Regions from separate parts of the Homo sapiens genome. Here region 1 is linked to region 2. The links are contacts of gene promoters, found by promoter capture Hi-C in human tissues and cell types (Jung and others, 2019). All regions are on one chromosome and are shown on one strand. Each heading gives the region's core, a stretch centred on a gene start or on the middle of the fragment in contact. The rest is flanking DNA. Distances are from core to core; before and after follow the strand shown.

Region 1 (6,473 bases), core at 3,381-5,880, 100 kb before region 2:
AAAAAATTTTTAAATAAATTAAAAAATAATAAACGGGCATGGTGGGTGTCATGAACCTGTAATTCAAGCTACTCAAGTGGTTGAAGTGGGGGGAATCCCAAGAGCACAGGAGTTCTAGGATGCTGGAATCCATGATCAGGACACCACCCTCCAGCTTGGGTGACAGAGCGAGAGCCTATATTTATATATATATAATCTTGTAAGACATAAAGTCCAAACTGTATCTGATCAAACATTCTAATAAAGGGGAAGAGCAAGAAAAAATTCTTAAAGACATGAAGTAGGATGGCTCATTCAAGAACTTCTATTCATTCTGTTCATTTCTAGAAACCTCTGGTAGATTTTGTGTCCAACTTTGTTTTAACCTCTCCACGAATATTAATAATAGAATTCGTTAAGACACCTGTATCCTAAAACACCGAGACTTTTCTGATCGGAGCCAGATCCAAGGAATATTGGACAATCTGTGTGGGTCCGACCGGGCTGAGGGCCAACCTTCTGTCAGCCATGAATGGCCAGGTTTGTGTTGTCTGCACATAGCTCAAAGTTCTAAAGACATAACCTCTATATAATCAAATATTTAGCGAAATATGATAGGCATAGGTATACAAAACTCCACAGCCAACCTACCTCTTGTTCCTTAGAATATGATTGTGTTCAGAAAATAGCCCTAAGAAGAGGTGATCAAGCTAAAATGAGGGAGTTTCAGTGGAACTAAATCCAATAAGATGAATGTCCTTAGAAAAAGTGGAAATTCCTTATAAGAACTGGAAATTTGCACACAGAGAGACACAAGAAGTACGTAGGCACAGACGCAGCCCCATGGGAGGACACAGCAAGAAGGTGATATCTAGATGCCAAGTAGACAGGGCCAAGAAGAACTGGACCTGCTGACACATTCACCGTGGAACTTGAGCATCCAGAAGTGTCGGAAAATAATTTCTGTTGCTTAAGAATATTAGTCTGTGATATTTTGCTTGGACAGGTATAATGAAGAAATTCAGGGGAGAGCAGGTTTTAGGAGGCAGAAATTAAGAGTCCTGCTTAGTGCAGGAGTGTAATGTAAACGGTATGGTTACATTATTTTAAATGGCAAGTGGATTGCTGACGTCCTTGACTCATGGACAAATGCCTAAGCTTTTGTTGCCATCTTGCTCCTTGCTTTTACCCCATCCTAAATCAGTGACACTGTCTCCATCAGTTCTTTGGTAACCTCTATTTTGCTTGTCTCTGGTAGCTTGATATCTGATATTTAGTCCTTCCTGATATGCTAATCTCTTTCACTCATTTCTGACATAGGAGAAGGTCAGGGCATGAGTTGAGTGATATTTGGAAGGATCACCTCTTGCCTTGCTGTACTCAGCAGACAAGGAGAAGTCTGTCTCTAACCAGGACTGCAGCTTCCCCACTGATTCCCACAAGGAGTCACATCTGCCTGGCTCTCCCCTCTGCTTCTTCTCTCTTGCGTTTCTTTCCTTCCTGATGGGCCACCATAAGCTACCTAGGCCAGACTGCCCATCAACAGCTTCCTTTTCAAACAATGTTTGGTGAAACCAGAGAAAATCATTCAATAACATCAGGACACCAGATTGGCCCAAGCACTCTGTGTCTCTCTGAAAGAATGTGAATCTCAGTTACAAATGTTAAACTTTCTATGTAACTGGAGAATATTTGGCCACTGGTATTATATTCCATCTTCAGAAAACATCCCTATTTATCCTAAGAGAAAAACAAGACAGCAATCTGCCTAGTCAGCTGCAAAATTCTAAGTTACCTCTAGTAGAGCTTATTGTATCAGGATGCCTTCCTATATGCAGTGGGTTGTTCAAATGTTGAAGGAAAAGGTATATCCTATTAAGAAACACCATGAATGGATTCCAATGTTTTGGCACCAAAATGAAATCATAATCTTTTGCTATAACATGTCTGAACAGGAGCTAGTATGAGGCATCAAGAAAAATAAGAGCAGTTTCAAAAGAGCCCCTAGAAGACCAACATGAATTTTTCTAAAATTAAAGTGAGTATAAACATCAAATTTATGGTGAAGCTTGGGTGGAGGAAGGCAAAATCATTGATGGTGTCCAAAGAGTTGTCCTACTTGACACGTGGTAAGTTGACATTGGTTGAAGAAGTCAGCAGTTCACAAATTCAATGAGGAGTTCATTTCAAGAAGGAATGAGGCAATGTTGAACCTAAAGCTTATCGTGACAGATGATTCACATCATATTGCAAGGAATAAATTCATCTTCTTTATACCCAGGAGAAGAGGTGTGATGATTAGCAGCTCACACAATAACCAACACTGCAGACTTCTCAGTTGGTTCAGTTTACATGAATCTAACTGAATGATTAAAGTTTAGTAAGCTTTTCACTTAATGGATGCCCAAACTGTGTCACCAAGATCAAGTACAGACAAGAGCAGAACTTTCCCTAAAAATTTAAATAGGAAGAACGAAGACCATAAGCATTTCTTCAATGAATTATAAGAGGAGATAACACATGACTTTACCAGTAAAATCCAGAAAACAAATACAATCAAAGCAATGGCTACCAAGAGGCGGAAATGTCCAGTCAAAACAAAAGTGGATGAGGAGAGCACAAAGATCTTGGCAAGAGTTTATTGGAAAGCTCAAGTCATTTTGCTGGTTGACTTTCTGGAGAATGACAGTATCTCCTTATTCTGAGAATATTTTGAGAAAGTCAAAGCTTTACTAGATGAATCCCTGGGAAAGCTTCAGCAGAGTCCTTCACCACAACCTTCCTCCTGCTCATTTCTCTTATCAAACAGGGCAATTATATGAGAGTTCTCATGGTAAATCATTAGGCTTTCACATTACTGAGAAGTGATGCCAGGTGGACTTCCTGGGTCCACTGTGGACTTGGAGAACTTTTCTGACTAGCTAGATGATTGTAAATGCACCAATCAGTGCTCTGGGTCTAGTTAAAGGACTGTAAATGCACCAATCCACACTCTGTAACAATGCACCCATGAGCCCTCTGTGTCTAGCTAAAGGATTGTACATGCACCAATCAGCACTCTATAAAAATGCTCCAATCAGTGCTCTCTGTCTAGCTAAAGGATTGTGAATGCACAAATCAGCACTCTGTAAAAATGAACCAATCAGCACTCTGTGTCTAACTAAAAGATTGCAAACGCACCAATCAGCAGCCTGTAAAATGGACAAATCAGCACTCTGCAAAATGGACCAATCAGCACTCTGCAAAATATACCAATCATCGGGATGTGGGCAGGGCCAAATAAGGGAATAAAAGCTGGCCAACTGAGCCAGCAGTGGTAACTTGTTTGGGTCCCCTTCCATGCTGTGGAAGCTTTGTTCTTTTGCCCTTCACAACAAATCTTGCTGCTGCTCAGTCTTTGGGTCTGCACTACCTTCATGAGCTGTAACACCCACGAGAGGGTCTGCGGCTTCATTCCTGAAGTCAGTGAGACCATCAACCCACTAGGAGGAACAAACAACTTTGGACACAGCTTTAAGAGCTGTAACACTCACTGAAAAGGTCTGCAGCCTCACCCCTGAAGTCAGTGAGAACAAGAACCCACTGGAAGGAAGAAACTCCAGACACATCTGCACATCTGAAGGAACAAACTATGGACACATCATCTTTAAGAACTGTAACACTCACTGCAAGCATCCGCAGCTTCATTCTTGAAGTCAGCGAGACCAAGAACCAACTGGAAGAAAACAATTTTGGACATATTACAACCCTAATTTGGTTTCTTTCATTTTTTTTTGTTTTGTAATCTTATAACATTTGTAAAAGGCATCCATTTTCCTTCAGTTAATAATGTAAAAAATACATATCAATAGCTGGCATGTTGACCAAAATGTATGACAAGTGGTCAATAATTTGTGTCTTTTTATATAGCTCATTAACAAGTAGGATTGGGAAATGGTTGTAAACTGAGTACCAGGTGGTAGAATTGAAGGAAACTTCCCATGTAACACTTTAGTTTTTGCTCTATTCCAAAGACAACAGGAGGTAAAGGGTTAAAGATGCCCCAAAGCTGTTGCACACCTTTGGGGAGACTTAAAATTCACGTGTTTATTCAGTTGAGTCTTAGGCTGTGACTACAATGCTTGAATTAGACAGTAAATGTGTCTTACTTACTTGCATGAAGACACTTTGTTCACATCTCTCTTATCACTTCTTTTCCTCTACTCGGATCTCAGTTCCTTTAAGGATTCGGGCTGGGCCTGAGATGACCTGGCTCAAAAAGGACTAAAGGCCCTACGTACTCATCTCCAAATCTTGCAAAAATATCAAGGAGGGTAGAAACATAAGTATTTATAGCTCTATTGCCTATACTTGCTCAATTCACCATTGTACTTGATTCTGTCAGAGTAGGGGAAGGTGTGCTGAGGATACAGGAAAGAGCTACAGTGGCATATAAGGGGAAAGAAAGGAAGAGACTGCAAGTCTGTTGAATCCATAGACACTGGAGTTGTGTTTAAACGAGGTAGACCCTGGGGCTAGAAGCCAAGGTGGGGGGAAAAAAGCTTTTCAGTTGCAGTAGTCATTTATTATTATTATTGTTATTATTAGTATTATTATTTCTTTTTAGAGACAGGGACTTGTTCTCTCACTTAAGCTGGAGTACAGTGGTGCAATCATGGCTCACTGCAGTCTTGAACTCCTGGGATCAAGCAATTCTTCCAGATCACCCTCTGAATTAGATGGCACTACAAGTGCCAATCGCCATGCGAGGTTGATTTTGTAAATTTTGTTGTATACATGGGGAGATCTTGCTATATTGTTCAGGCTGATCTTGAATTCCTGACATCAACAATCCTCCAATCTCAGCCTCCAAAAGTAGTGGGATTACAGTCATGAGCCAGCATGCTGGGTGTATAGTCACTCTTTCTACCTCAGCCTCATTTTCCTGCATTCTGTAAATCCCCATCAGAAGAGAGCAGGGCTGCCTGGCTACTGGGATAGCCTCTAAGAAGCCAATGTTAAACTCTGTGGTTCTTGTAGAGGAAAAGAAAAAAGAAGTCCTTGAGTTCAATTGAGCTTTGAGAAAATGGGGTACAAAACATGAAAAGTTAGGAAGACATTGTGGATAAGGCCCTTGGGACCCATTCAGCACACTTTTCTGTGTTTTTAATTTTATAAGTGTGTATTATGTGAAATACTTACACTCTTATCTCATAAGAGCCAAGGAGAATCATCCACATAGAAGCTTCAAGCAGAATAACGTCAGTGGGATTAACTCTTCTGCCAGTGGAGCCAGTGGGTGGATCACGATGCAGCCTGAGTGCCTCCACCCTTCAATGTCCAAAGCTTGCCTTGTTGAACTTTTTGTGTATTGTAAACACAGAAAAATGCCCATGTGAGGCATAAAATTGAAAATTACTCAATATACTTTTACAAACCGTAAACAATTGACCAACTGTTAATGAAGGGTATAATCAAGATACGACAACCTTGAAACAACTTGGATATGGAAATGATCAGACTTTAAAGCAGCTCTTATAGCCAACTTTTCTGAGGTAAATGTGAACACTCTCAAAATAAATGGGAAAAAGCTTCTCAGCAGAAAAAGGAACTATAGAAAATAATAAAATAGAAATTTCAGAACTAACATATATAAGTCTAAAATTTGAAAAAAGACCTTATAGACTGTGAAAGTTTTTCAGAAAGTAAATGATCAAGGTGTTTGAAGACAAAAAACTAAATTAACCAAGTCAAATCCAAGAAGAGACATCTTAGAAGAAATGAACCTGTTAACACCTTGATCATGGAATGTGAGCCTCCAGAACTGTGAGAAAATTAATTTCTGTTGTTCAAATTACACAGTGTGTTTTGTTTTTTTTAAGGGCAGAGATAACAAACTACATCAGGGGAGAGCAGTTTAGGATGCAGAAATCAAGGATCTTATTTGGGACATGTTATGTTTGCATCCATATTAGAAGGCAAGTGGATTGCTGAGAGCTTCAACTGACCAAAAGGTGCCTGAGCTCCTGCTGCAGGCCTGCTCCTTGCTTTGACCCCATCCTTACTCCCTGACAGGGCCTCTTTCAGCTCCTCTGTCATCTCTGTTTTATTTGTGTGTGGAGATTTCATAGTTAATATTTATTCTTCCCTAATAAACTAATCTCTTTCACTCATTGCTGACATTGGACAATGTCAGAGAAAGGGCCTGAGAGGAGTGATATTTGAAGGCAATGCCTGCTGTCTTCCTGTACTCACCAAGCCAAGGGGGAGCCTTTCTTTCACCAGGACTATGACTTCTACAGCAACCTATGCAATGAGGCAAGTCTGCAAGGCACTCCCCTCTGCTCCTTCCCTCGGATCTTCCTTTCCCACTAAAAGGTCTACCATAAGTCACTAGGCAGGACCATTCATCTCCAGTTTCCCTGTCTAATCAGTGTGTGTGGAAACCAATGATAGTCATCCCAATATCATTAGGGCACCCGCTAGGACAAGCAACTACTTTATGCCCACCCCTA
Region 2 (6,344 bases), core at 773-3,272:
GACAAATCTTTCTTGTATCAGGCCTGCAGCAACCTAAGTTGGCGACAACATCAGGCAATGTTGGCCTGGCCTCTCTGCTGCTCCTTGTTTCTGACATTCCTTTGTTACCTGATGGTCTAACTTAAGACACCTAGGCAGGATTGGTCATCTCCAGTTCCTATGGAGGAGACCAGAGATAGAAATCTCAATAATATAATGGGACCTGCTGGCACAAGCAAGTACTCTCTGCCTAAGATAAAACTCATGAAGACTAGCTAGAACCAGTCCACTTTCCATAGAGCCAGAAATAATTTCCAATTAATAATATATTCCCCTTTCAAGTATGTCTATATTTTTGCCAGGGAAAATATCAATCTTCCTGGTTCCCTTGCAAGGGCAAAGTTATCTGTAGCAAAGCCTTCTGTATTAGGAAGTCTTCCTGTACTATTACCCCCAACTCTTCAGAAGGGCCAGACCAGACCCTCATCTGCACAGTCCAGGATCCACTCATCCACAATGGTCAAGAGGTCTGTCTTTAGGATTTACTGTCACATACCCTCTCTACCTCCATCATACCTCCAGCCAAGCTGTCCTCAAATTAATACCAGCCATGCACAAAATGTGAACAATTACACAAGACACACAGAAGGTCTAAGTGGTAAATGGCAGCTGACTCACTGACTAACCTGTATATTCCATGAACTGATGAGCAGGGATTTACTAGGTATAACAGAAGAATCAGCAGCTAAAAGAAGTGCTAACAATGCAGGACTCTGAGAGGGCTTTTTGGAAACACAACATTTATTGTGAAATTACACAGACAAGAATGAAACAAAGGTGGTGAGAATTATAGCTTATTACTTAGAAGATTAAATAAAGGAAATCTTACCAAATTCCTGGGGAAAAAAGCCAGATATATAAAGAAAATTACACAAAATGAGCTTGACTCAGAAAATAAAATATGAACAAAGAAGTACCAGAAAGAACGTCAGGGAGGAATGCATATCAGAATATTGTAGAAAAAATACTCTTTGTGGAAGAACAATCTGAGAAAACAGGTAACACAAATACTGACTAAACCAAGAAAACCAATACAATGCAATTGAGGCTTTAATGAGGGTATCTGATTACCTTATTTGAATGTAGAATTGTAGCCACTTAATTATCAGAGGTAGGAATTCAATACAATTCTTAAAAGAAATGAAGCAGAGGGTGAATTTTGTAGAATATTCTAGAGAAAGGGAAGAGCATGAAGGAAGTTTTGGCAACATGATATTGCATGGTTCCTGCAAGGAACTATATATTCAGTTTTCTCAGGTCTAGAAATTTCCTCGTGGTTTGTGTGTCCATTTTGCATTCATAACCCCTAAAGATACTTTAAAATACACAATTTTGGCCTTCCTGTGTTTCACAACAAGAAGCCTTTCCTGACTTGAGTGAGATCCACAGAAGCATGAACAATAGCTGTAGCCTGAGTAGGCTGTGAGGCAGCCTTCTGTCATCTGTGTGCCCAGGAGTGTGCTGTCCTCAAACATCTCCCAGATAGCAGAAACTATCTCTATCGCATCAAAAGTTAAGCTAAATGTGATACTCTCTGTACACACACATCACGAGAGATGGAAATAGGCTATAAAAACAGCCAGAGATATTGATCATCATCACCGCTGGCTGTAGCTTCACTGCCCACACACACATACACAGAAATAAATAGCAAAGTTGAAAGTGGACAATAGTCTTACCAAAAAGATTGAAACTCTAATGACGTCTGAAGTTCAATTATGACACCGTGCTGATTGCTTGGACACAGTTCCTTTAAAACCTTTGTTCAAGTCATAGTTGTACCTTTTAGAAATAAGGTACAAACAACATCCAACCCAACCTGTTCCTCTGGGCTAGAGTCCCAGACAGAAATAAGGGATACACCTGACCTGCAGTAAGGAAAGCAGAACCCAGTCTCTGGGGTGGTGAGGCCCACCCAGTGTGGAGCTCAAAGGTGCCACTGTTCTGCTCCTCTTTATAAAGGGAGCTGCCATGGTTCTCCCAGCACAGAGTTGGGAGTGACTCCAGAGCCTCCAGCAAGATGCTACTGATTCTGCTGTCGGTGGCCCTGCTGGCCCTGAGCTCAGCTCAGAGCTTAAATGAAGGTAAGACAGAAGGAGGAGAAGATGTGGTGACTCTGCTTGGGGCTTAGGAGGTGATAGTTGTAATTATGGGGAAGAGAGGAGAATGAAAACACAGATGGGGCTGCAGAGGTTTCATGCCTAGGATCAGGAGACCTGTTGTGCCCTCATTCCACACCAAGGGCTTCTAATTTATTTAATGTACAATGAAAATCCAATAAAGAATTTGTACCAGGGGAATGAGAAGGTAAGATTTGCATTTATAGAGAGATAGAACTGTGCTGTGAAGGATGCAGTGGTGAATGCAAGGCAGATTCAGGAAAGTCCAGCTGTGAAGATCCTAAACTGATCTCAGTAAGTACACAGGGATGATTGTGGCCTTGCTCTACCTAGTGGATCAGCATTGATGATGGAGATAAACACACATTAGAGATACTGCAGAGACAGAACTGGATAAAACACTTGCCTGTGTCTAACTACAGATATAGAAATATCAGATTCAATCATTGTGATTTTTCTTTCCCCTACACACAGTATTTCAATGTGCTGGGAGTGGTATAGGTAAGATTGTATTGAAACAATTACTTCTGGTTACCGAAATTGAGAAAGCTTGTGAATATAAGCAATGTATTTATAGGAGATGGAGGGCATAAGAATACCAAAATATCACATTGAAGTACCTGGCATGTGTAAACTAAATTAGCATTAAGTCTTGAAGGATGCTAGGGAAGAAAAAAAGGGGCTCTTCTATATTGAGTTCATGGCTGTTGCTCTGTGTGGTAACAACCCTGCCTCCCCTTACACCTTCCTCCCCTTCCAGCAGCTTCACAGATGGTAGCTGATGAGCTAACCTAGGGGATGCATGGGGTGTGGTGAGAAGTCCCCTTTCCCTGTAGAACACCTGTGAATCTTGCAAAATTCGAGATGTAACCTTTCCCATCATCCTGTGCTTCTCTTCTAGATGTCAGCCAGGAAGAATCTCCCTCCGTAATATCAGGTAAATCCCAATTCACTCTCAATCTGTTTTAACTATCTTCTTCTGCTTATGAATGGATCAGTTCTCCAGTGTCTTCTCACCAACATTTTCCTTTAGAAATTGATTAATATTAGTCCCCCTAATAATGCAGGCAATCTTCATGCAACCTTGATTTTGGGGACCATGAGCAGGGCCACCAAATTGAATGGCAGAGATGCTTGGCTTAGATGAAAACGGGAGTGGGTTGACTTCCCTCCTGCCAGGAGTGCCTGCTGGGAGATGACAGACAAATGGCCAGTGTCCTTATTCTGACTCCTCCTTAGACTGAGAGCCCCTCAACTGCTTCCTTCTTCTCCAGCATTCCACTCCAGAGTTCTAGAGCTTCACTGAAAATGCAAAGAAATTAGTGTCTGGGTCTTATTTTTGTGCATTTCCCCATTTAGCTGCGTTACTGTAAAAATTTGCGGCAACTATTCAGTGAATGCCGTGTGTCCACCTCCTCCAGGAAAGCCAGAAGGACGACGCCCACAAGGAGGAAACCAGCCCCAACGTACCCCACCTCCTCCAGGAAAGCCAGAAGGACGACCCCCACAAGGAGGCAACCAGTCCCAAGGTCCCCCACCTCGTCCAGGAAAGCCAGAAGGACCACCCCCACAAGGAGGAAACCAGTCCCAAGGTCCCCCACCTCGTCCGGGAAAGCCAGAAGGACAACCCCCACAAGGAGGAAACCAGTCCCAAGGTCCCCCACCTCGTCCGGGAAAGCCAGAAGGACCACCCCCACAAGGAGGAAACCAGTCCCAAGGTCCCCCGCCTCGTCCGGGAAAGCCAGAAGGACCACCCCCACAAGGAGGAAACCAGTCCCAAGGTCCCCCGCCTCGTCCGGGAAAGCCAGAAGGACCACCCCCACAAGGAGGAAACCAGTCCCAAGGTCCCCCGCCTCATCCGGGAAAGCCAGAAGGACCACCCCCACAAGGAGGAAACCAGTCCCAAGGTCCCCCACCTCGTCCGGGAAAGCCAGAAGGACCACCCCCACAAGGAGGAAACCAGTCCCAAGGTCCCCCACCTCGTCCGGGAAAGCCAGAAGGACCACCCCCACAAGGAGGCAACAAACCTCAAGGTCCCCCACCTCGTCCAGGAAAGCCAGAAGGACCACCCCCACAAGGAGGAAACCAGTCCCAAGGTCCCCCACCTCGTCCAGGAAAGCCAGAAGGACCACCTTCACAAGGAGGCAACAAACCTCAAGGTCCCCCACCTCATCCAGGAAAGCCACAAGGACCACCCCCACAAGAAGGTAACAAACCTCAACGTCCCCCTCCTCCAGGAAGGCCACAAGGACCACCCCCACCAGGAGGCAATCCCCAGCAGCCTCTGCCACCTCCCGCTGGAAAGCCCCAGGGACCACCTCCACCTCCTCAAGGGGGCAGACCACACAGACCTCCCCAGGGACAGCCTCCCCAGTAATCAAGGTTCAATGACAGGTATGATTCCAGTTTATTCTTCACCAAGTGCTCTAAGTGTTACAGTTCTCCAACTTTATTGTGCCAATGAATCAACTAAAAACCCATTGACATTGTATTGTCCTAGAACCCATTTCTAAAGATTTGTATTCAGATACTCTGGAATAGGGTAAGAAGACCCTGTATTTCTAACAAACTCTTTAAGGAACTCTGATGTTGAGAAACAACATACCATACAATCTGTCTTAAATTGTGTTGGCAATGAGGAAGTAGTACCATGTCCATTCTTGGTGCTCTGCTTTCGGTCCACAAACTCAGAGATATTGCATTTAAATTTTTCACCTGAGCACTGTTTGCTCATTCCTGCCTCACGCCAGCCTCTCGAGTCCAGTATTCCTGCCAAATGGTCCCTGATCTTTCAGCAGCTAAATGGTGTCTCATTTTTTACATACTTAGTTTTCAGTAAGTACATGATTAAGCTAACAAAAGATATCTAATGGAATGGAAAAATATGAAGTTAATTTTAAAGGCGTAGCTCATCCTACTCACCTTCCTTCCTTCAAAAAGCTACCACTGTTGACTTTATGGGATCTTCTCTTTGAAATATTTATGTGTGCATAGACATACAGCATTCTTTTACCCTACCACTAATACCATAACTTATATGCAGGTATATATGGTAGTCATTTAAAAATACACTTCTTGAAAATTTCCACATCAGTTTATGAAGCTAAATACATCTCTTCAGTGGTTTTCTGTTTGCTTTTACAATTTTATGCTACTCCATTGTGTGGCTGCACCATGATTTCTTTAATCAATCCCTGTCACTGGATACTGAGGGTGGTTTCATCTTATCACTATTATAAAATAGGTTCTGATTATCATATGTGTAAATATATCCCTGAACAAATTCAACAGCAATGAGTCATAACAACCTAAGGATGATCTTTTCTCTTCATCTTCTCAGCAACAATTTGGAGCACATTGTGTGCAAGGGCATCAAAAGAGTGAACACAGAAAAAATCAGGAAAGAATCACAGGAGGTTGAAGGGATTGGGGAGAGAGGATGGGATCTCATGTACTCTACTGCAGTAACACCAGTGAGGAATTCGACATTTCCTGCCATGTCAAGTCTGCTCTATGAAATTCCTTGTTTGTTTGTTTCAGGAAGTGAACAAGAAGATGACAGTGATTCAAATGATTCAAATGCCATGACATTGGAAGAAGGTGGTCATAGCTCTACCTTTAATATACCAATAAAATAAACAGCTTACAATTTCTGATTGTGGTGTCTCTTTCTCAGTGTTTGTGAATGTGGAGTGTGAGGACCAAGAACACATTATAAGAACATCTAGGACCCCTTCTCTTTGATGCTTCCAGGGAGATTCCCTCCTCTTTAATCCTAATTTAGCCAGCTGCCATGAAAAATATTTTACTGTTTATCTCCTTCCCTGACTTCTATTTTTTTCTTTTTCTGAAATGGAGTCTTGCTCTATCACCTAGGTTGGAGTGCAGTGGCATAATCTTGGCTCACTACAACCTGCATCTCCTGGATTCAAGCTATTCTCCTACCTCACCCTTCACAGTAGCTGGGATTACAGGATCCCACCATCATTCCTGGGTAATTTTTGTAATTTTATGTGAGATGGGGTTTCACTCTGTTGGCCAGACTAGGCTAGAACTTCTGACTTCAGGTCATCTGCTTGCCTCGGCCTCCAAATATGTTGGGATTACAGGAGTCAGCCACCATGCCTGGCCCTTCTCTGGCTTCTACAGCACAAATTGAAATTTTAAAATTATTTTCAGATTGTT

What was found. Contacts are between HindIII fragments. The study calls those that stand out against the background at their distance.
Region 1: a contact is called between a fragment that was not itself captured here and the fragment with the promoter of PRB3 in region 2, in 2 of the 25 tissues and cell types used here (small bowel and thymus).

Annotation. Positions count from the first base shown.
Region 1 is chr12:11,369,599-11,376,071 of GRCh38, reverse strand. No RefSeq gene overlaps it. Among named protein-coding and RNA genes, the nearest start is that of PRB2, 23 kb to the left of the region's middle. The HindIII fragment of the contact is 3,197 bases long and covers 3,032-6,228 here.
Region 2 is chr12:11,265,385-11,271,728 of GRCh38, reverse strand. PRB3 (proline rich protein BstNI subfamily 3) reads left to right here and starts at 2,022. Exons shown (of 4, transcript NM_001394862.1): 1 at 2,022-2,123; 2 at 3,061-3,096; 3 at 3,581-4,553; 4 at 5,700-5,815. The coding sequence starts at 2,060. The coding sequence ends at 4,536. The region is part of intron 1 of LOC107987435 (a long non-coding RNA gene); the gene reads right to left. The HindIII fragment of the contact is 7,773 bases long and covers 1-5,186 here.